Regions from separate parts of the Homo sapiens genome. Here regions 1, 2, 3, 4 and 5 are each linked to region 6. Evidence: promoter capture Hi-C in 16 types of primary human blood cells and fetal thymus (Javierre and others, 2016). All regions are on one chromosome and are shown on one strand. The core of a region is centred on a gene start or on the middle of the fragment in contact, and the rest is flanking DNA. Distances in the headings are between cores, read along the strand shown.

The links. Contacts are between HindIII fragments. The CHiCAGO score rates a contact against its expected background, and 5 or more counts as called.
Region 1: a contact is called between a fragment that was not itself captured here and the fragment with the promoter of PTPN4 in region 6, in 12 of 17 cell types (total CD8 T cells, total B cells, monocytes and 9 more). The highest score is 11.1, in total CD8 T cells.
Region 2: a fragment that was not itself captured here is called in contact with the fragment with the promoter of PTPN4 in region 6 in 7 of 17 cell types (total CD8 T cells, monocytes, naive B cells and 4 more); the score reaches 8.4 in total CD8 T cells.
Region 3: a fragment that was not itself captured here is called in contact with the fragment with the promoter of PTPN4 in region 6 in 10 of 17 cell types (total B cells, naive B cells, total CD4 T cells and 7 more); the score reaches 13.6 in total B cells.
Region 4: a contact is called between a fragment that was not itself captured here and the fragment with the promoter of PTPN4 in region 6, in 1 of 17 cell types (neutrophils). The highest score is 5.5, in neutrophils.
Region 5: a contact is called between a fragment that was not itself captured here and the fragment with the promoter of PTPN4 in region 6, in 1 of 17 cell types (neutrophils). The highest score is 6.8, in neutrophils.

The regions. Positions count from the first base shown.
Region 1 is chr2:120,280,729-120,283,749 of GRCh38, reverse strand. The region is part of intron 2 of RALB (RAS like proto-oncogene B); the gene reads right to left. Among named protein-coding and RNA genes, the nearest start is that of RALB, 29 kb to the right of the region's middle. RefSeq lists an enhancer at 1-117. The HindIII fragment of the contact is 1,412 bases long and covers 559-1,970 here.
Region 2 is chr2:120,329,946-120,333,248 of GRCh38, reverse strand. All of the region lies in intron 1 of LOC105373989 (putative cuticle collagen 91), which reads right to left. Among named protein-coding and RNA genes, the nearest start is that of INHBB, 15 kb to the left of the region's middle. The HindIII fragment of the contact is 6,192 bases long and covers 1-3,303 here.
Region 3 is chr2:120,300,186-120,303,433 of GRCh38, reverse strand. No RefSeq gene overlaps it. Among named protein-coding and RNA genes, the nearest start is that of INHBB, 44 kb to the left of the region's middle. The HindIII fragment of the contact is 1,080 bases long and covers 1,123-2,202 here.
Region 4 is chr2:120,361,209-120,364,266 of GRCh38, reverse strand. No RefSeq gene overlaps it. Among named protein-coding and RNA genes, the nearest start is that of INHBB, 17 kb to the right of the region's middle. The HindIII fragment of the contact is 4,907 bases long and covers 1-3,058 here.
Region 5 is chr2:120,538,673-120,542,051 of GRCh38, reverse strand. No RefSeq gene overlaps it. Among named protein-coding and RNA genes, the nearest start is that of LINC01101, 74 kb to the right of the region's middle. The HindIII fragment of the contact is 6,352 bases long and covers 1-3,379 here.
Region 6 is chr2:119,758,072-119,761,510 of GRCh38, reverse strand. PTPN4 (protein tyrosine phosphatase non-receptor type 4) reads right to left here and starts at 1,589. Exons shown (of 27, transcript NM_002830.4): 1 at 1,127-1,589. LOC101927764 (a long non-coding RNA gene) reads left to right here and starts at 1,797. Exons shown (of 4, transcript XR_007087215.1): 1 at 1,797-1,879. RefSeq lists enhancers at 733-1,357, 1,628-1,887, 1,604-1,898 and silencers at 1,088-1,387, 1,938-2,047. The HindIII fragment of the contact is 4,728 bases long and covers 818-3,439 here.

The sequences.
Region 1 (3,021 bases), core at 15-2,514, 520 kb before region 6:
CAAACTTCACGTGGACCCTTTCTTTCTAAGCTGACTTTCCTCTAAGCTGCCAGAGACTGAAAGTCTGAAACGGTTGCTGCCAAAGCCTCTCCATCCCCAACCTTACTCTCCCAAAAAAGGCAAAAACGAGTATGTTAGGCCGAGCATAAGGAGCTTAAAATCTGACTGCTGCCACCCTGGCAGCTCCCTCCAATTTTTCTCAAAGTCAGAACTTAGACAAGAATAAAGACTCTGGGACTATGGCTCCTTCCATAATCTAATCTTCATGAAAATTCCATCACATAAGCTAAACAATTTTAAATAAGGGTTAAGCATGCACTATGAACAAAGAGTCTGAATGGTGCAGGAGACTTTAGACCAGGGGTGTCCAATCTTTCGGCTTCCCTGGGCCACATCGGAAAAACTGTCTTGGGCCACGCATAAAATACACTAACACTAACGATACCTGATGAGCTAAAAAAATATATTGCAAAAAGAATCTCTGAATGTTTTAAGAAAGTCTACAAATCTGTGTTGGGCCACATTCAAAGTCATCCTGAGCCACAGGTTGGACAAGCTTGATTTAGACAGCCGGCCTCCCTGAACACAGAGCTCAATTTCCTGACTAGATGATCTCTCAGGCAGGAGCTGCCACACCTGGCCACGCGGCAGAACCACCAGAAGAGCACCACTGAAAGAGTCCCAGTTCTCCAACTCCACCAATATTATTCAGGAGGTGTTTTTTTTTTTTAAAGTCTCCCAGGAAATTCTATAATCAGCTAGGTTTGACAATTACTGCTAAGGTCTCTTCGAGCTAAAAAATTATGATTCTAGAACCATTCTGTCCAATATAGTAGCCACCAGCCACATTTCAAATGCACAATAGCCACTTGTATTGGACAGTATAGATACAGAACATTTTCATCATCATGGAAGTTTCTATTAGCACCGTTTTAGAAAATCGATTAGAACTCCTCCCCCAAACATACATCACTTCATTTCTATTCCTTCCTTGCCCCAATTTTATTTTACAATTTCTTCAATAACTGCCACTTTCCAGTTCTCAAGTATGTTAGCCCATGAGAAAAACAGACTAAGGCCAGGCACAGCTTTCCCTGGTCTCTGTGAAGAGAACAGAAAGAAGAGAAAAAACTCTCGAATCTTCTGCATGCATCTGCCCCCTCCTCTTACCCACCCCCGCCCCCCTCCCCAACACACACACACCCAGAAACCTCCAGACCAGGCTCTCCTAGTCTCCTCAGCAGTGCTAGCTCTGTTATCTTTTTTTTTTTGAGATGGAGTTTCGCTCTTGTTCCCCAGGCTGGAATGCAATGGTGCGATCTTGGCTCACTGCAACCTCCATCTCCCAGGTTCAAGCGATTCTCCTGCCTCAGCCTCCCAAGTAGCTGGGATTACAGGTATGCACCACCACACCAGGCTAATTTTGTAATTTTAGTAGAGATGGGTTTTCTCCATGTTGGTCAGGCTGGTCTTGAACTCCTGACCTCAGGTGATCTGCCCGCCTCGGCCTCCCAAAGTGCTGAGATTACAGGCGTGAGCCACCGCGCCCGGCCCCAGCTCTGTATCTGAACTTGCTCTTGGAACTGGCAACCCAGGGCCTCTCAATCACTAACACTGTAGGGGAATCTTCTCTCCTTGGATCTGCCACGGCTCTGCCTCTAATGCAGGTTTCTCAACAGTGGCATTGTGGATATTTTGTGCTGGCTAATACTTTGTTCGGGGCTGTCCTGTGTGATGTAGGATGCTGAGTGCGTCCTTGGCCTCCACGCACTAGATGCTGGTAGCATCTTCCCCCAAGCTGTGATGGCCAAAAATGTCTCCAGGCACTTACGAATATTCCCTGGGGAAGCAAAATCCCCCTCTCTCACCTCTGTTAACAACTACTTCCCTAATCCTATCTCCCTAATCCTAATTCCCCTACTCACCACCCCCTCTCTTCCCCAACCTCTGTTATAGGGGAGAAAAAAGCTTTCGTAAGCAAATTATAAGTTTTTGAGCAAAAACAAACAAAAGACCTACAAAGCAGATGCAGATCTCCCAACCTGCTTCTCTTATGCAAAAACGTTTTGGGGAAATTCAGCAGATTACATTAGATTTATCCAGTTTGACCCCCCAGAATAAGATAAAGAAAAGCAGGTACCAAACACAAAAGTGTCTCATTATAAGACATGGGGAGCATGACCCAGGAGGATAACCAGGTTTGGGTTTGAAGCTTATTCATTATGGGGGCCCTTCCTTAAGATACAAAATTACACACGTAATACTGGACATTAAAGTAAATGTTGACATTGAATGAGAAATCATAATCCATTATAAAGTTTTAAAGATGAGTACTCCAGCGATCTCACCCCCGGGTGACTCTCAGTGAGGCGAAGGGAATACCCCCATGTTTCCATTTCATTTTATAAGACCGTCTAGGCTGGCTGGAGACTGTCCTGCCGGCCTTGGAGAAGCAAGCCACTGTGGTATGAGCTGCCTATGGAGACGGCACATGGCAGGGGCCTGCGGGCAACTTGTAGAATCCGAGCACCTGTGTCCTACACCCACAAGGAACTAAATTCTACCAACAATTAGGGAGCCTGGAAGAGGACCCCCACGCCTCAGAAGAGGTCACAGCCCCAGCTGACACCTTGAGTGGAGTCTTGTGGGACTCTGAGCAGAGGACTCAGCTGAGGCTCCAATTCTGGACCCATGGAAACTATGGAATGACAAATGTATGTTGTTTTAACCTGCTAACTTTGTGATTATTATACAGTAATAAAAAAAACTAATACAAACAGCACTGACATCACAAAATCCAGCAAAATAACAATATTTTTATTAATTAAACTGCCTGACATACCTCTAGAATACCTTCTACTTTTTTGTTTGCTGTATACTTTTTCTTGTCATATGCCAATGATTTTGAAACATTCCTATAGAGAATAAAAAATAATTTAGTCTTTCCTTTAGCATGGTTAATGAAAATGTCTTTTGTTCTGACAGCTTAGAAGAGGTTCTTTCAGCTTCACAACTACATGA
Region 2 (3,303 bases), core at 636-3,135, 570 kb before region 6:
GTATTGAAACCCAGGGGCCAGATGAGTTCGCTCAGTGAGAGGGTGTTGATGAAGAGAAGAGGGCCAAGGAGGAACCCTGGGGCACTTTGGCCTTTGAAGGCCAGAGAGCCAGCAAAGGAGGAGGAAAACGGGCCAGCATGGTGGAGAGGGAACGAGGGCCGAGTGCCAAATGCTGCGAGCATGGAGTACCATGAGAACAGGAATGCACCCGGGACGTGGCCACGTGGAGATTGGTAGGGACCCTGATAAGAGCCAAGAGCTATCACAGTAGAGTGGGGGAAGAAGGCCTCGGAAAGAATGGCTGATGAGCAAGTGGACCTGCCAGGAAACTCTTCCCCATGGTGGTGTTGCTGTGGAGGGTGGGACAGAAATGCATGGAGCTAGAAGGAACATGCAGTTGGGAGGGCTCCCCAACCAACAAGCCCTGGGGCTCCCACGCCTCCACCACCCGGCCTCAGTGGTCATTTCACAGTTCCTGTCACTTGCACTCCAGCACAGAGGATATCACAGCCCAGATACCAGAGTTTTTTCCACCCATTCCAAGGATTGGGCTCAGAGGAAACAATTAGAAGCCTCCAGTTACTCTCTGGGGCTCTTAAGAGCTCCTGTCTGGAGACCTGGCCCTCTGGGCTCAGCCGCTAACAAGAGCCATCCCCTGTGTCCCCACGGTGACCGATCAAAGCGCCACCTGTAGCGAGTTATTTAAGGAGAAGAGCTGGGCTTATGGAGGAACCGTGGAAAGATCACAGGCTATCTTCAGAGAAGCTGCTGGTGGAATTCCCAAGTCCTTACTGGGTTTGGGGCTTGATTACCCACTCAGTGCCCAGCTGGTCATCATCATGTTGGCCAACCACCAGAGGGGAAAAAAAATTGCCTCCAAAATTTATCAGCAGCCAGGTCACCACCTTTGCTGTGAGATGAAACTACATCTGAAGAATATTTATTCTGGGGAGCAGAGAAGGGGAACGGCAGAATGGTTCATTTCAAACTTTAGTGGCTTTGTCTGGGTTTTGCTCAATCCCCAGCTAACGGCTAAACTATCTGAACTCCAAACCAAAATAAATACACCTCTGAAGTTAAACAATGTTATTACATCAAGGCTGATGTAATGGTTCCAAACCATGAGAAAATAATATTCCAGCATAATGGGTCCCTCTGTTTAGCCAGAGGAAAGGCTGGGCTTCTGGCTCCTTGTCAACTGGAATTTGGCGTTTTCTATCATTGTTGAGCTGGGTGTGTGTATCTGTGTGTGGGACCTAATTAAAGATGCTTTAGGACTTGTGGTGTGAAAGCGTACAGATAGATTTTAAAATATAATTGAGTGGTACAGAGTAGGTCTCTGGACCAACCCAAAGAAGGGCCCCTGCCTGCCCTCCCCCTTGGGTCCCTCCCAGAATCAGCTTCCCCCAGAGTGACATTGAGGATTTCGATGGCCCCTCCAGGTTCAGGGATGGAAAAAGGTTATGTGGCTTAAAGGCTGTTTCATTGTGAAAGACAACTTCCAAATAAAAGAGAAAGTGGTACCCGCCCCCAGGAACATATCTGCACGTGCTGCTCTGCACCCTCGGGTGTCTCCAGGCAGACGGAAGCTGACTCCCACAGCCGAGCTGAGCTGAGCAGGGCACAGGCTTAACAGGGAACATCCACTGGGTTGACACTGCACCAATGGTGCCTACAGGCGGGCAGCTAGCTCTGCCCCTGGGCTTGAGGGCTTGGTCCCTAGGGCTCTGTTCCCGTGTACACTTTACCAGGGTCAAGTCAGGCAGACAGTGCCTGGAAGACGCGCCCTCTCACCCTCCCCCACCTCGCTGGAGGCTGCCGTAGGAAGACTTTGACATAGGGAGTCCCAGGGTGCCCGGTCAGGTTCACAAGTCAGAGACGTCTGCCAACTAATGAAACTGAGCGCTTCCGATTTCAGGTTCTCCATAGAGTGCAAAAGGCTTTTTGGTTTGGGTTTTATTTTTAACATACCATTCATCAACACCAGCTGTCAACCACATGCAGAACTCACAGCTAGCCTCTGCCCCAGGCCCATGGGCTTCTTAATCAAATCAGGCCGAGGCATGCGTGGGGAACAAACATGCATTGTGTCCTATCTCACTGAATCCTTACCACAAAATTATCATTAATCCCTCTTTGCAGATGAGGAAACAGAGGCTCAGGGAGGTTTAGGAACTGGCCCGGCATTCCTTGTGTGGCATCTGGCAGCGCTACAGACCTCATCTGTTAGATGGGGATGACATCCCGCTCCGCGGAAGCTGTGTTAGTTTGCTAGGGCTGCCCTTACAAAGTAGCACAGACGGGATGGCTCAAACAACAAGATTTATTTTCTCACAGTTCTGGAGGCTGGAAGTCCAAGATCAAGGTGTCGGCACGGTTGATGTCTCCTGCAGCCTCTCTCCTGGGCTTGCAGGTGGCCGTCCTCTCCCTGTGTCTTCACACGGTCTTCCCTTTGTGTGTGTCTGTGTCTTAATCTCCTCTTCTTATAAGGACACCAGTCACACTGGATTAGGGCCCAACCATATGACCTCTTTTTACTTTGATTATCTCTTTAGAAGCCCTATCTCCAAATCTCCAAATACAGTCACCTTCTGAAGTGCTGGGAGTTCAGGCTTGGACATATGAGTTTCGAGGGGACATGGCTCACAGCAGAGGTGCCGGCAGGGTCAGGGGAGATGATGTAGGCTGAGTGCCTGGAGCTGCATGTGCCCCCGGCAGCCTCACTTGGGTCAGGGGTGGGATGGTGTACAGCAGGTTCTAAGAACCATCACCTGTCTTTACTGGGTGCCTGCTCCACTGCAGGCCATGGTGGCTGTGGGATGGCCTGGATAGGAAAGTGCAGCGAAGACCAGCTGTTCCCAACACAGCGGAGCCATTCCAGAGAGCCAGAGCAGGCAGGTGGGGCTCTGCAAATATGTTCAACCCCCCACACCCCTGCCGACAGCACAAGACTGTGCAGGCTCTCCCGGTGCCCTACAACCTTGGGCTGGGACCTCTCTCCGACAGCCAAAGCAACCTGGACACCCTCCAGTTCTCATTTCTCCCCTATCCCCAAGCAGCATGTAGCGGGGGCCAGCAAGAATTTGCTGAATGAGTGAAGAGATGTAAGTTCTGACGGATTCACTCCTCCTGCTCTGCCCTCATTTCTTTCCTACTGAAACTTCATTTCTTCCAGAACAAGAGGCTGGGCTCAGTAGGATTCTGGACTGGACTCACTGTCCACCAGCAGGGCTGGGGCACTTCCCAGTCGGGGCTGCCCCTGGAGTGTCAGGCCCCTGGCAGACAGGGAGCAAGACCTCCCGA
Region 3 (3,248 bases), core at 413-2,912, 540 kb before region 6:
CTCAGGGAGAAGGAGAGTGCTGAACGGCAAGGGTGCAGGTGGAGGGATGGCAGGCATCCAGATGGGGTGAGGTCCCTGGGGGCTCTGATAGAGCGCTCCAGAATCCCTACAGAGGAGAGGTTTGGAGGAACAGCTGGGGTGGGGGATGGAGAAGGCTTATCCAAAGCTGCATTTCCACAGCATTGGTGCGCCATGGCTCACTTAGGTGTGTGTTCAGTTGAGGCAGTTCCATCGTTTGCTCTAACGCTGGCTAAATCAGTTGTACTTACTTCTGCAGGCGACGGGCAGGAGTGCAATCTGGGTAGTACTTAAGCCAGCTGCCAAGGCAGGGGTTCCTACAGTGGACAGAAACAGGGAGAGACCTGAGTGGGAAGACCACCATGACTACCAGACCACATCTCCAAAGCGTGTGAGGTCAGGAAAACAAGGAAGGAAGAAGAGGAGGCTGAAAAGTAGAAACGGAAAACTATGTTCTGGGGGATACCAGGGAGAAGGCATGCCGGCCAGCAAACGTTTAACGGAAGAAAAACAGGGCAGAAAAGAACGTGAGGGCGAGCTCACCACCACCGGATTTAAGGGTGGGGAGCGGCAAGGCAGACGGCAAGTGTCTACTTTCAACTTAGCAGAAAACTTTCTCACTGAGAAAACAATCAGTCCTCCAATCTGGGTTTAGAGAAACAGAACCTGGTCAGACTTCTAAGATCACTGCTCTAGCTCTTATTTCACTATGTCTCTTGGTACCAGTCCTCAAAAGAGAGCCCCTGCTTTATAGAGAAACTTGAAGCACTTCCTCAAGGCGACATGATTTTACATTTAAGCTAACTCATTCAGTTTAGCCAACACCCAAGATCCTGCAATGAGTCCACATCAATAGAGGGCCCGGAGACACAGAGTGAACAGTGTGTGGTCTCTGTGCTCATGGGGCTCACACGACAACAGGGACTGAGAGGAGCACGAAGCCGCAGAAGGAGCTGTGAGGGGCTCATGAGGCACGTCAGGGAAAGTCCTCGGCGCGTCCAGAAAGGCTGCAGAGCAGCTACACGGTACTTAAGGGTGAGCAGAGGGTCAGAACGGGGCTTTACAAAGACCTTTTATTGTTTGTATGTTATACGTCAATAAGCTTTATTCTTTTTTTTTTTTTCCCATCTCACTCTGTCACCCAGGCTGGAGTGCGGTGGCACGATCTCGGCTCACTGCAACCTCTGCCTCTCGAGTTCAAGTGATTCTCCTGCCTCAGCCTCCCGAGTAGCTGGGACTACAGGTGCGCACCACCACAGTGGGCAGTAAAGGAGTGAGACCCCGAGCAGGGAGAGAGGTGAAAGGAGAAGCAGGAGAAAGCTCAGTCAGGCACGAGAGCACTGGCAATACTGTAAAGACTGGAAACGGCCACTGACTGTGCAGGGGGAGGTCCCTGGTGACTCTGCCCCAACCAGCCTGGCAGAAGTGGAAGCGGCTGCAATGGCGACTGATGTGTGTTTCTGGAACATGTAGCCCCTGCCCTGTGCCTGAGGTAAGGAATACGACTTAGCCATGAAAAGACAAAAAGAAGAAAGGGGTATTTTCCTACACCCATACAATTCAAGAATCTCTGCAGGAGAAAAAAAAAATCCATACACATACCAAAAGCAATTTTTCCCTAATAAAGAACATAATTTGCACAGATGAGTTGATAAGTTGGCCAATCGCACATGGATAAGTGCTGACTTAAAGTTACACAGGTATCTTAGTTACCTTGACCCAGGAAGTCAGGGCCTTTAAGGAAGCCACACTCCACTGCTGTCTCCACAGCCAGAATCGAGTCCCCAGCACTTCCCCCACTTCACTGAGTGCCAGCCCCTGCAGAATGCCGCAGCCCTCCCCCAGGCTGAGAAACCCTGGCCTGGGGCTACGTTTCCAGCTGCGCTGGGATGAAGAAACTTCATGGGTCAGGACATCTTCTTGTCTTAGATTCTCACTCAAACCAATGTGTGGCTAATTAAGGCAGTCTAGACTCACAGAGTTTTACCACAGGATTAAAATAATATCATACATGTGTTTTCGCCACATAAATCAGATTTTAGGAAAACTTTCCCAGCTGCAACTACTGAAAATACACAAGAAGTAACTGATGACTTAGCCCATAAGAAGTTAACCAGCTCATCCCTTTGATTCCTGTGCAACACTCACCTTGAGATGTTTTTAACTACTAGAAATAAGTAAGCTTGGTTTGTTGTTGTTGTTGTTGTTGTTGTTGTTGTTGTTGTTTTGAGACAGAGTCTGGCTCTGACGCCCAGGCTGGAGTGCAGTGGCGCAATCTCAGCTCACTGCAAGCTCCGCCTCCCGGGTTCACACCATTCTCCTGCCTCAGCCTCCTGAGTAGCTGGGACTACAGGCGCCCGCCACCACGCCCGGCTAATTTTTTTTTGTATTTTTAGTAGAGACGGGGTTTCACTGTGTTAGCCAGGATGGTCTCGATCGCCTGACCTCATGATCCACCCGCCTCAGCCTCCCAAAGTGCTGGGATTACAGGTGTGAGCCACCGCGCCCAGCCGTAAGCTTGTTTTAACATGTGAAGTTGATGGACACTAACTTTCCCAAGGATTCCGGAACTTGAAAACTGTTTAGGTATCTGGTCCTTCTTCACTGCCACCTGAGAAGGCTTGTGGAGGCTGCACTGCGGAGAAGCAGCTTCACACTCCTGGCAGCTGGGGGCTCCGTTCCTGCTCCCAGGCCGCAGCACCTTCACCAACCTGGGTGGGAGGCCGAATCCTCAGCTTAGCCAGGTTTCTGTGCTTCTCAGACACGACCAGAGGCCCCATTCCGACTTGAGCTACGTGTGTGGCAATGAATCATCCTGACAGTACTGTCAGTGTGACTGAACACGTCTAGCTTGGTGGCACACAACTGAACAAGTAGAAATGAACAGCAAGCTGCGGTGTGTCAGGACAAGCTCTAGCACTTGAATTAGACAAAGGCTGGGGCGGAAGGGTGTTGGAGGAAGTCTCTTTTTTCATTCATATCTACTCAAATAGAGAAGAACAGCCTTAAACCCAAGGGCCCAAATTAGTTTTAAAACTTGTACTACATCCTTTCTAAAAAGTCCTCAAAGCGGGCCTCGTGTAGCAACTTACAAAAGGAAATCAGGAAGTCTGCACTGACAATATGCATTTTAAAAAGCAGCATCACCAAGGAGCAGGTAACTCACCAACTGCAGCTGGCAAGCAGGATCGTCCCAAACCTGAGAACAAAAAATCTACAAAACCGCTAAC
Region 4 (3,058 bases), core at 527-3,026, 600 kb before region 6:
GCACTGCAGGTCAAGGCCACATGCTCTGGGCCTTTGCCGCAGCTGTGTCCACTTCCGAAAATACCTTTCCCTCTGCCCTTCTTTTCTGACCAACTCCCATCTGTCCTGCAAGATTTGGCTCAGGGACCACCTCTTCCAGGAAGACCTCTCAGATACCCCCACCCCCAGAACACTGGGCTCCCGCAATAACCTCTTGGGCGCCCTACAAAGAACTGTGAACATGTGATGGAAGATGTTTCAGACACGCGTCATGGCTTTGTCTAGCACACAGGACCCCTCAGTCACCAGCCCCTGAGAGGACCACAGTTCTCGTCCTATTCCCCACTCACCTGGGCACCCCTGCCGTGTGTGTCCACTGATGTTCCTGCAGCTACCGGCTCTGGCCTGGGCACTGCCCTCTCCTCTGGGTTCTACCCATCAGTTACAAAGGGCCGACATGCAAGGCCCAAGCAGAGCAGTTTCAGAAAAACATTTAGGGAAAAAAGCCAAGTGTTCCTGGCAGGCCCTGGTGCCCTCCTGACCCCCACATCAGCCCTTGGGTCTCAGAGCCCCAATTGGCAAGGCCCCAGGCTCCAGACCTGTCCAGATCCCCCCAAGCCCCTCGGTCTGAAGCCTGGCAGCAATCCAAGGCTGGGCAGGCACTCATGGTGCCCAGGTCTCACTGAACAGCTGTGTAAGAATGAAATGAGATGAGAGAGTGCCTGTTCCATGCGTGGCCAAGAGAACACGCTCAAAGTCCTGCTTCACACTCGCTGTGGGCCTGCAAGGGAAAGGTGGTGGCCATTCTAGATGTGGCCCACGTGAGTCTCTGAGTCCTGAGGACTGTACCCAACCAGGTGAGCTGGCCAGACTGCTCTTTGAGGTGGCCCAGCCTTAGGCCAGGGCCTAACATCATAGCTGAGCATGTCAACCTTTTCTGGAGAGGCTCCTGAGGCAGCCTACTCTCTCAGGGACCATCCTGGGCACCGTTTTTAAGGTTTCTGGGGTGGTTATGACACCTGCCTCCAGCTCTGCCTCAGGTGAGGCCTGGCATCTCAGGGAAGAGGTCACACACACCCACTCACTCACAGAGGAACCTCATGGGCTGGGGAAGGTGAGGGAGCTCTGGAGCACCCCACCCTGGAGAAGGGATGAGGACCGTGGGGCTAGAGGACATGGATGGCGGCCGCCAGTGAGGCTGGAGACGGGGCTGCCCGCGGGGGAAGGCGCTTCTGCTGCTGCGTTTTATGGTGTTTTTAAAATTTTTAGTTGTGGTAAAACATACCTAACATAAAATTTACCATCTTAACCATTTCTGAGTGTATTCTTCAGTTGCATTAAACACATTTACATCGTCGTGCAACCATCACCACCATCTTGCTTCAGAATTTTTTCATGTTCCCAAAACTGAAATTCTGTACCATTAAAATCAACTCTGCATTCCCCTGCCCACACCCCCGGCAACCGTCATTCTACTTTGCATCTCTGTGAATCTCACTACTCCACGTTGACTTCCTTACACAAGTGGAATCATGCAGTTTGCCTTTTTGTGACTGGCTTGTTTCACTCAATATAATGTCCTCAGGGGTCATGCATGTTGTAGCAGTTGACAGAATGCCTTCCATTTGAAGGCGGAATCATATTCTGTTGTATGGAGATGCCACGTTTGTTTATTCGTTCACCTGCTGAGGGACACTGTGTTCAAAGGTGTTGCTTCTACCTTTTGGTTACGTGAAGAATGCTGCTACGCACATCAGCGTACAAATCTCTCTCCAAGGCTCTTCTTTCAGTTTTGGGGGGATATATACCTAGAAGTGGAATTGCCGGATCACATAGTAATACCTTTTTTAATTTTTTGAGGAACTTCCATACTGTTTTCCACAAGGACTGTACCATTTTGCACTCCCACCAGCAAGGCAGAAGGGTCCCAATTTCTCCACATCCTCACCAACAGTTGTTACTGTCTATGTTTTTGATAGTAGCCAACCCTAAGGGGTGTAAGGTGGTATTGCTGGTCTTTGTTTGTTTGTTTGTTTGTTCTGAGACGGAATCTTGCTCTGTCGCCCAGGCTGGAGCGCAGTGGCCCTATCTCGGCTCACTGTAAGCTCTGCCTCCCGGGTTCACGCCATTCTCCTGCCTCAGCCTCCCGAGTAGCTGGGACTACAGGCGCCTGCCACCACGCCAGGCTAATTTTTTGTATTTTTAGTAGAGATGGGGTTTCACTATGTTAGCCAGGATGGTCTCGATCTCTTGACCTCGTGATCCTCCCGCCTCGGCATCCCAAAGTGCTGGGATTACAGGCATAAGCCACAGTGCCCGGCCGGTATTGCTGGTCTTAATGCCCATCTGTTTCCCTTATTTATTTAGTCCTGTCCTGTGCTGGGCATGAGAAGGGCTCTGAAGAATCACAGAGTGCCACCCTCAGCCTTCCAGATCCTCACTCTCTAAATGTCTTCAACAGACTCACTGATAATGCATTTTGATGTTCAGGAAACTGTGATGGTCTTGGTCAGGGCCACAGGTGAACCCGTCAGCTGAGGAGGGTCATGGAAGCAGCATGGCCACCCAGGAGAGAGTCCCAGGAGGAGGACAGAAGGGGAGCAGTGGTGGTCTGCTGGGACATCTGCCAGCCAAGGAAGCCTCTGGATCAGTGGCCAGCAAACTTCTTCTGCAAAGGGTCAGCCAAAGTCCCTAAAGGCCTTGCAGGCCATATGGGTCCCTGTCCTAACTAACGTATAAATGAATGAGGTCACTGCATCCCAATAAAACTGTATGTATAGGCATTTAGTTTGAATGTCATATCATTTTCACATCATGCAATATTCTTCTTCTTTTGATTTGTTTTTAACCATTTAAAAATGTAAAAAACTATTCTTAGCTTGTGGACTTGGCCTGCAAACTCTGTTCCAGAATCAACGGCAGTGACACTCTGAGAGCTTAGGTCCCTGAGCAGCTCACAGGGACAGGCGTTCCTCGAGCTCTCTGCAGCCTGATTGCCTCCATGGGGTCAGCATCCTCGGGCGACCTGGTTCCATGATGGAACCTGAGTGCCTTCAACGCATAAGCACTGCTCACCAAT
Region 5 (3,379 bases), core at 391-2,890, 780 kb before region 6:
TCCTCCATTGAGGAATCGGGGGATGTCCTCCCTTGCTTACCTGCTCTGTTGCTTGGGCACTGCCCATTTACGATCCTGCAAGCAGCAGGCAGGTGGCATCCGCCCAGTAGAGTATCTGCAATAGCAGCACCGTGATGAGTGAAACTCAAGGTTTCATGAGGACACCGGGGGGCGGGAGCACCTTCAGGGCTCTGTGGCTAACTCAGGCACAGTCTGTGCTCAATAACTCCAAATGATAGGCCACTGTGGGCCATGAGCAGCTCCCTCCTTCCTGCCTTAATGAGCACAGTGTGGAGACTGAACCTCAGTCTCCTAAAGGGATGGAATTAAAGGAATTGGGTCAGCCCACTCATCTTACATCTGGGCGTACCAGGCGGTGACACACCCAGGCTGCATAGCCACACAATGCGCACCCTTGGCTGGCCCAGCTCTGCTCCCCTCCAGGCCCAGCAGCCTCCTTCAGCTGCTGAAGCTGAGGGCACTGGGGCGCTAAGGTCCTCACCGGCTGATGCTTTGGGCAGGTGCTGGGAGGCGAGGAAGAGCCCATGGCACCATCTGACTTCTCAAGGTGCCCTGGCAGGGTATCTTCCTGAGATCTCCTGGGGAGGTGGCCAGATGAGAGAGATCAGAAATGAGGGCAAAACCGCAGAGGCCAGAGCTGAGCTCTCCATCCTGTGCAGTCACCAGGCACTAAGGCCAGAGAGAAGAGGAGAGCCCTGAGCGCACAGTCAGGGAAGGCCTTGTGCAGAGGCGGCACCTGGGCAGGACAGGAGGGATGGGCAGAGGGGGTGGCAGACGGCAGACAGCAAGGACAAAGGGGAGGAGGTGGGAAGGTCCCCAGACGGCATGGAAGACAGAAAGGGAAGCCCCTCCAGCCATTCCTGCCAGAGACCCTGCCAGGGCCCAGGGGTGGGCTTGGCAGACTGAAGGGCTCCTTGCCAAGGCTGATAAAGGGAGTCTCTCACTAACTGGAAACAGGGGGCTTGCAGAACTGAGAGCCCTGTGAGAAGGGTCTGGATTCTGGTGACAGGAAGATTGGCAGGGCTGGGATAGTGGCTCGGAGCCCCCAGGGCCTGGTCCCAGAGGCTCAGACAAATGCCATGGTCCCAGGAGGCCCTTCCTTGCAGTAAGCAAAGATTTCCTCAGTTCTTTTGACTACTCCCTGGGTCAGGTGGCTTCACCTCGCTGAGCCTCCGTTTCCTCCTCTGTAAAATGGATGTGTAACCTGATAGGCTTGTTTTGAGTAGTTGCTGAGATCACAGGCCTGGCACAGAAAAGTGCCCTTCAGTTGCGGGCTCCGTGCCCCCTCGCCCAGCACCCTGTGCACCCCTCTGGTTTCTCTAGTTATTCACCAACTCTGCCCCGGTGCACTGCCTGCCTAGGGCTGAATGGAGCAGTGCGGGGGTAAATCAAGCCCACATGTCTATCACCAGGCACTAAATCTCCCCAGGGACATTCCTTACTGTAGCAGTAATGCCGCCAGCTCCAGGGAACAGGGTTGCACCATAGGGCAGGCTCCCCACACCCGGGAGGCTTAAAGGGCCAGCTCCAGCAGAAGCAGCAGGCCCAGCCTTACATGGGCACAGACGTGTCAGCAACAACAGCACCCCGCTGCAAAAATAAACAAGCAGCACCGCCGTGTCCAGAGACTCACAGCGTAGGGGATCAGAGCTCAGGCTCTGAAGTCAGACCAGGTCTCATTCCCAGTTGAGCCACTAAGCCATGTGGCCTTGGACAGGTTACTCTCCTCCCTGCTGTCCACCTCAGTTTCCTATTGGGCTGGCAGGTCTATGGTGAGGACTGAAACGCTGAGAGTCCCTGGTGCACATCAAACACTCCCTTGTAGCGCCATTGTTAATCAAGTGCCACGCACATGTGATTTGGTCCACTCCAAAGTTTCCTAAGGAAGAGACTGCTATTGTCCTTAAATTTCCAGAGGAGAAATAAAACCAAATCTCGGGCTTGTTTGGGCTGTGTGATCAATGGTCATCGCGGGACACTTGGCACTTGACCTGTGCTCCATGCAGTGAAGGGGATGGGCCCAGGCCCGGGCACTGGGAGTCCTGGCTGCTGTGCCTGCTGCACCCGCCCACTGCCCTGTCCTCCCTGGCTCCCCACCGCAGGCAGTTGTCAGGGCCGGCTTTCCCTCGCATGGTCTGATCACAAACCAGGAAGGACGGCACAAGAACTGATCTTTGTTGAGCCCCACTGGGTGAGGAAGGCCCCTTCGCTCCCGATCCTCCTCCAGCTCTGCCGGGAACTGCTTTGGAGAAGAGCAACTGGAGGATCAGAGAGGCTGTATGCCTGCCCTAGGTCACTCGGCTGGTGGGGGCATCGCCAGGAGTAGAGCCTGGCCAGCTTTGAAGCCAGCGTTCTTTCCTCTCTAGCCCACGTGCCTGGTTCAGTCTACAGTACCCCTCACTCCCAGAAAAAGAACAAAAGCATTCAACCCATGGCCTGTCTTCTGGGCTGCGAGGGACGGCCCTTTTATTTATGACAACCGGCTGGCTAAGATCAAAATGACCAGTGGGAAACACCAGTCTCTGTGGATGACTTTGTCATCAGATCACTCGAGAGAAAAGAGCATTTATCTGTCAGAGGCTCACTCTTCCTCTGCAATACCTTCTGAAATTATTGAGGGGATTTAAAACAGGAAAATACAATGTTTTCCTCATGAAAAGAACGTTTCTATTAGAGAAAGCATAGGAAATACAGAGAGATGGGGTCGGGGGAAGCCCTTAACCTCCCACCCAAAGGTAACCATTAACCTGTCTGTGCCTTCCTCTATCAGCTTTTCATTCTTTTTCAGCAAACATTTGTTGAGATCCTCCCTTCAGTGGTGCCGAAGAGCTGATTATGGTAGAATCTGTGCCCTCGAGCTCACTGTGTGCCGGGGTGCAGGGCTTTTGATTTTATAGGATGTTTCAGACACCTCTTGGGCACCACTTCAAGGGAGACTGGCTCCGTGTGGGTTTGCAGCAGCTTTGTGCAGAGGTGACGGCCCTTTGCCTGTGACCACCCTTGGTGCCTCTCCAATGTTGCAGCCCTCAGCCTTTGTGCATGGCCAGCCCAGAAGTGCGGTGTGCTCTGCCCATGAACGCGACCCAGTGGACAAACGCTCCCCATTTTGTTTCCTGGGTGGCTGGTCTGAGCCACATTTTACAAGGCTCCAGTGGGGTGGAGCTCCAGTTGTCCACAGTGATGGTCAACAGAACCATGTGCTCTTGGTGGATTCGTTTTCCCTCCTCCCCTTTCTCTCTCCAGTTCCCTCAGGCTAGTCCCTGGTAACTGTTTCCAAATAAACTACCTGCACACCAGCTTTTGGCTCTGCTCCCAGTTTGAGACTGTGGTCATGCTATACATACAATTTAGGAAGGGG
Region 6 (3,439 bases), core at 340-2,839:
CTTCTGCTTACGAGTTTTTTCTTTAAAAGAAAGCTGAATTTATATTAGTCAAATTCAAGATTTAGATGATATACCTAGCTCTATTCCATTAAGCACAGTTTAGGCTCTGAACAATCCTTTATTTTAAGGCCATCTCCTTCCCCCTTAAAATTGAAAAAAAATTTTTTTCCTCTGGCACGTTAAAGTTCAGAAAACCAAGATTTAAAAATGCCCTGGCTTTTACTGTTCCAGTCTTCTTTCTACTCTAATTGTCTTTTGCAAGTCGGACACATTGGCCTTTTATCTTTCTCCATAAATATGTTTTAAATGTGACCAATCAGCTGTACTGTTTCAACTGGGCCCAAGATCTGGACACAGAAACTTAGTATTACTGAAACCTCTTATTCGAAAAGCAGCTGGCATATTGCAGATGCATAACAAGTTATCCTAGAACAGGCGTTTTGAAAAATCCTACAAATCGTCCTTGTACATACTGATGTCACTACATGATGCAAGCCCAGACATAAAATCTTCCACCCTAAGTTTTGCAGAAACATCCACACATCACCTGTGCAACTGTAAGCTGTTCCATTTTATGGAAACCCTGCGAAATGCATCACTGTTTACCCACATCTCAACTTTTTTTTTTTTTTTTTTTTTGGCTCAACTACAGATTCCCAAATACAGGTATATACTGGTAGAATCATAACAGGCTTAAAACTTCAATGGTAGGAATAGTTGGCTCATGCAGCGTGCAAGAAGCGCTCATATGAGCCAAAAAAAAAAAAAAAAAAAAAAGGAATTCTACCAGCAATGGAAAACTCAAGATTCCAAAGCTTTACCTAGAGTTTAGGTACTGGGAACATTCCATCTCCGCACCTATTCCATCCCTTGGCCCTTCGCTGACCCATAACAGAGATTCCAACTATAACCCCCGCAAAAGCAGAGGTCCCAGGAAGAAAGGAAAGAAAGCGTTTTTTTGTTTGTTTGTTTGTTTGTTTTTGTCCTTTTTTCCTTCCTTTCAAATCATCCTCGTACCTCCGGCTTGCCCCACCTGGCTCACCTCCCAGGAGCCACACATGCAGGTAAGAGCCTCCCGTTCAACGTGCAGGGCCGAGAGGCCGGCGGGGACCGGAGAACCTCTTACCTTCGTATATCACAGCCGCGTCCTCTCGGCTGGAGAAAAAAAGCCTCGAGGCCCCGGCGCGCAGAGGAGAAGCGCGTCCTCCGTGCCGCTCCGGGGGGCTACCTCAGCGCCCCCCGAGCAGCCGCCGCCGCAGCGGTCGCGCCACGACCCGGAGCCGCCAGCACCACCTCATGCTGCTGGGCAGCCGCGGGCCGGCGCCGCTGGGGAGGTGGCAGGGAGGCGGGCAGCCGGCGACCTCTCCTACCTCCCTGCAGGGATGAGATAATCCACACCCCCAAAAGTGCGTGGGGGAGGGGGCCTGGCCCCAATCCTCCGACCCCGCGGCCAAAGCCAAGTCTCTTTCCTCTCCCGCTCAGGCCCAATTCCGGCCCCTGGGACCCAGGAGTCCTGAGAGAACAATGTTGGTGGTGGGGCGCGAGGAGCGGAAAAGCGCACTGCGCGGCGTGAGCTGGCGGGTAATCCTGGGCAGCGTTTGTGTGTGAGAGTGCAAGAGGAGCTCAGTCACCCCCCTCCTTCTCCACCTCCTCTTCCTCCCCCTCCTCCTCCTCTATCTCTTCCTCCTCCCTCAAGCACACCCCCTCTCCTAGGCCGCAGCATAGCAACCGAACATGGCGGCTGCGCAGGCGCCGCCAGTCAGTGGCCAGGAGCGGCGGCGGCAGCAACAGGAGGCGATCTCGCGAGAGGCGAGGCCAAAACCCTGCCTCGCTAGCGCAGGGAGAAGTCGCACCAGTCGGAGCGCAGAGGGACACGCAGGTGCGAGAGAGAGCGGCCTAGGAGGATTGGGAGGGCGGATTGGAGGGGGGAGGCGGAGCGCTGTGGCCCCCGCCCCGCAGCCGCGTCGCGATTGGTTGTTTGGACTGCGACCCCTGCTGCACCCACTGACCGCAGGGACCGGATAGTGGGCAAGAAGCGTGTGTTAAAAGGGAAAACCAGACCAGTTGGCAGCAGGTCGCCCCAACCTCAGTGCTCCTGGAGGATATAGGTTTTGGGGGGCAGTTTTGAATCATTTCCTCTCCTAAACGTAGGCTCCAAAACAAAGCCTCAGCAACCAACCTGCGTTTATAAAACAAACGTTCGGGGGCTCCTTCTGTGTGCCTGGAACGGTGTGCTTTTTAAAATTTAATTCCTTCTAATAACATGAATTTGGTGTTATCACGCCAGGGTTTTTAGCCAGGTGCATTATAATATTTTATTGGTGATACAAACTTATTGGTAATACCACAGTTGCCTACTGGCGAATGATCTCAGCTGAAATGGAGGAAGAAGGGATTTGGGGACCGCCACACTTCCTTTTTGCCCAATTTTTGTTAGTGCCCTTTTCTGTCGCCAGGCGCCTTCTTTGTCCTTCCTTGCTCTTAGCTTGAGCATCCTATCAGAGCCTACCTTTATAAAGACGATCTTTCAAAAACCACTTTCCCAAGCCGACAAAATGACTACAAATCAGGGGAATGTGAACAAATCTGGAAAAGACAGAAATTTCTATTGACTCTCTTCTCCCTCACACCTGTTAGTTTTTCCATTTGAAAAAGGCAACTTGTCAATCCATGTTTCCAGCTTTACTTCCTTCACTTGCTTTTCTTCCCAGATCTCTGTTGTAGCCAGTGCTCATTCATTCCTCCCTAAATATGCATTCCTGCCTCTGACTCTCCATTTTGTCTTTGATCATGCCATTCCCTCTGCTAAAATGCTCTTCACCTCATTGTCATCTGTCAACATCCAGTCATCCTCCAACCAAAGATCATATGAGACTTCCACCAGAAATTGAATGTTTCATATAAATAGAATCATACAATATGTAATTTTTGTTTAGAGGCAAGGTCTCGCTATGTTGTCAGGCTGGTCTCCAACTCCTGGGCTCAAGAGATCATCTTACCTTAACCTTCGGAGTAGCTGGGATTACACATGTGAGCCACATGGCTTACATGTAGTCTTGTGTCTGGTGTTAAGCAAGACACAAAAGTTCCTGAGTGGAACTTCCCCTGCAAGTCACCAGGATGGACCCTTTGAAGTTACCAATACTCACCATTATTCCTTGAAAAATCTGAGTTCACCTTAAATCTACCTGCCTGCAACCCTGGAAAGAGAAGAAGCAATTATTGTCCTTAAAAAAAAGAGAGAGAGAGCTTTAGACTGTGCCCCAGGCTCACATGGGCCCACTGAAAATTGAATTGGGAAATAATAAATTAGTATATCTCACACTTTAATATACATGCTGATCACCTGGAGTTCTTATTAAATGGCATGGTCTAATCCATTAGGTCTAGAGTGGGCCCTGAAATTCTGCATTTCTTTCTTTTTTTTTTTTTTTCAATA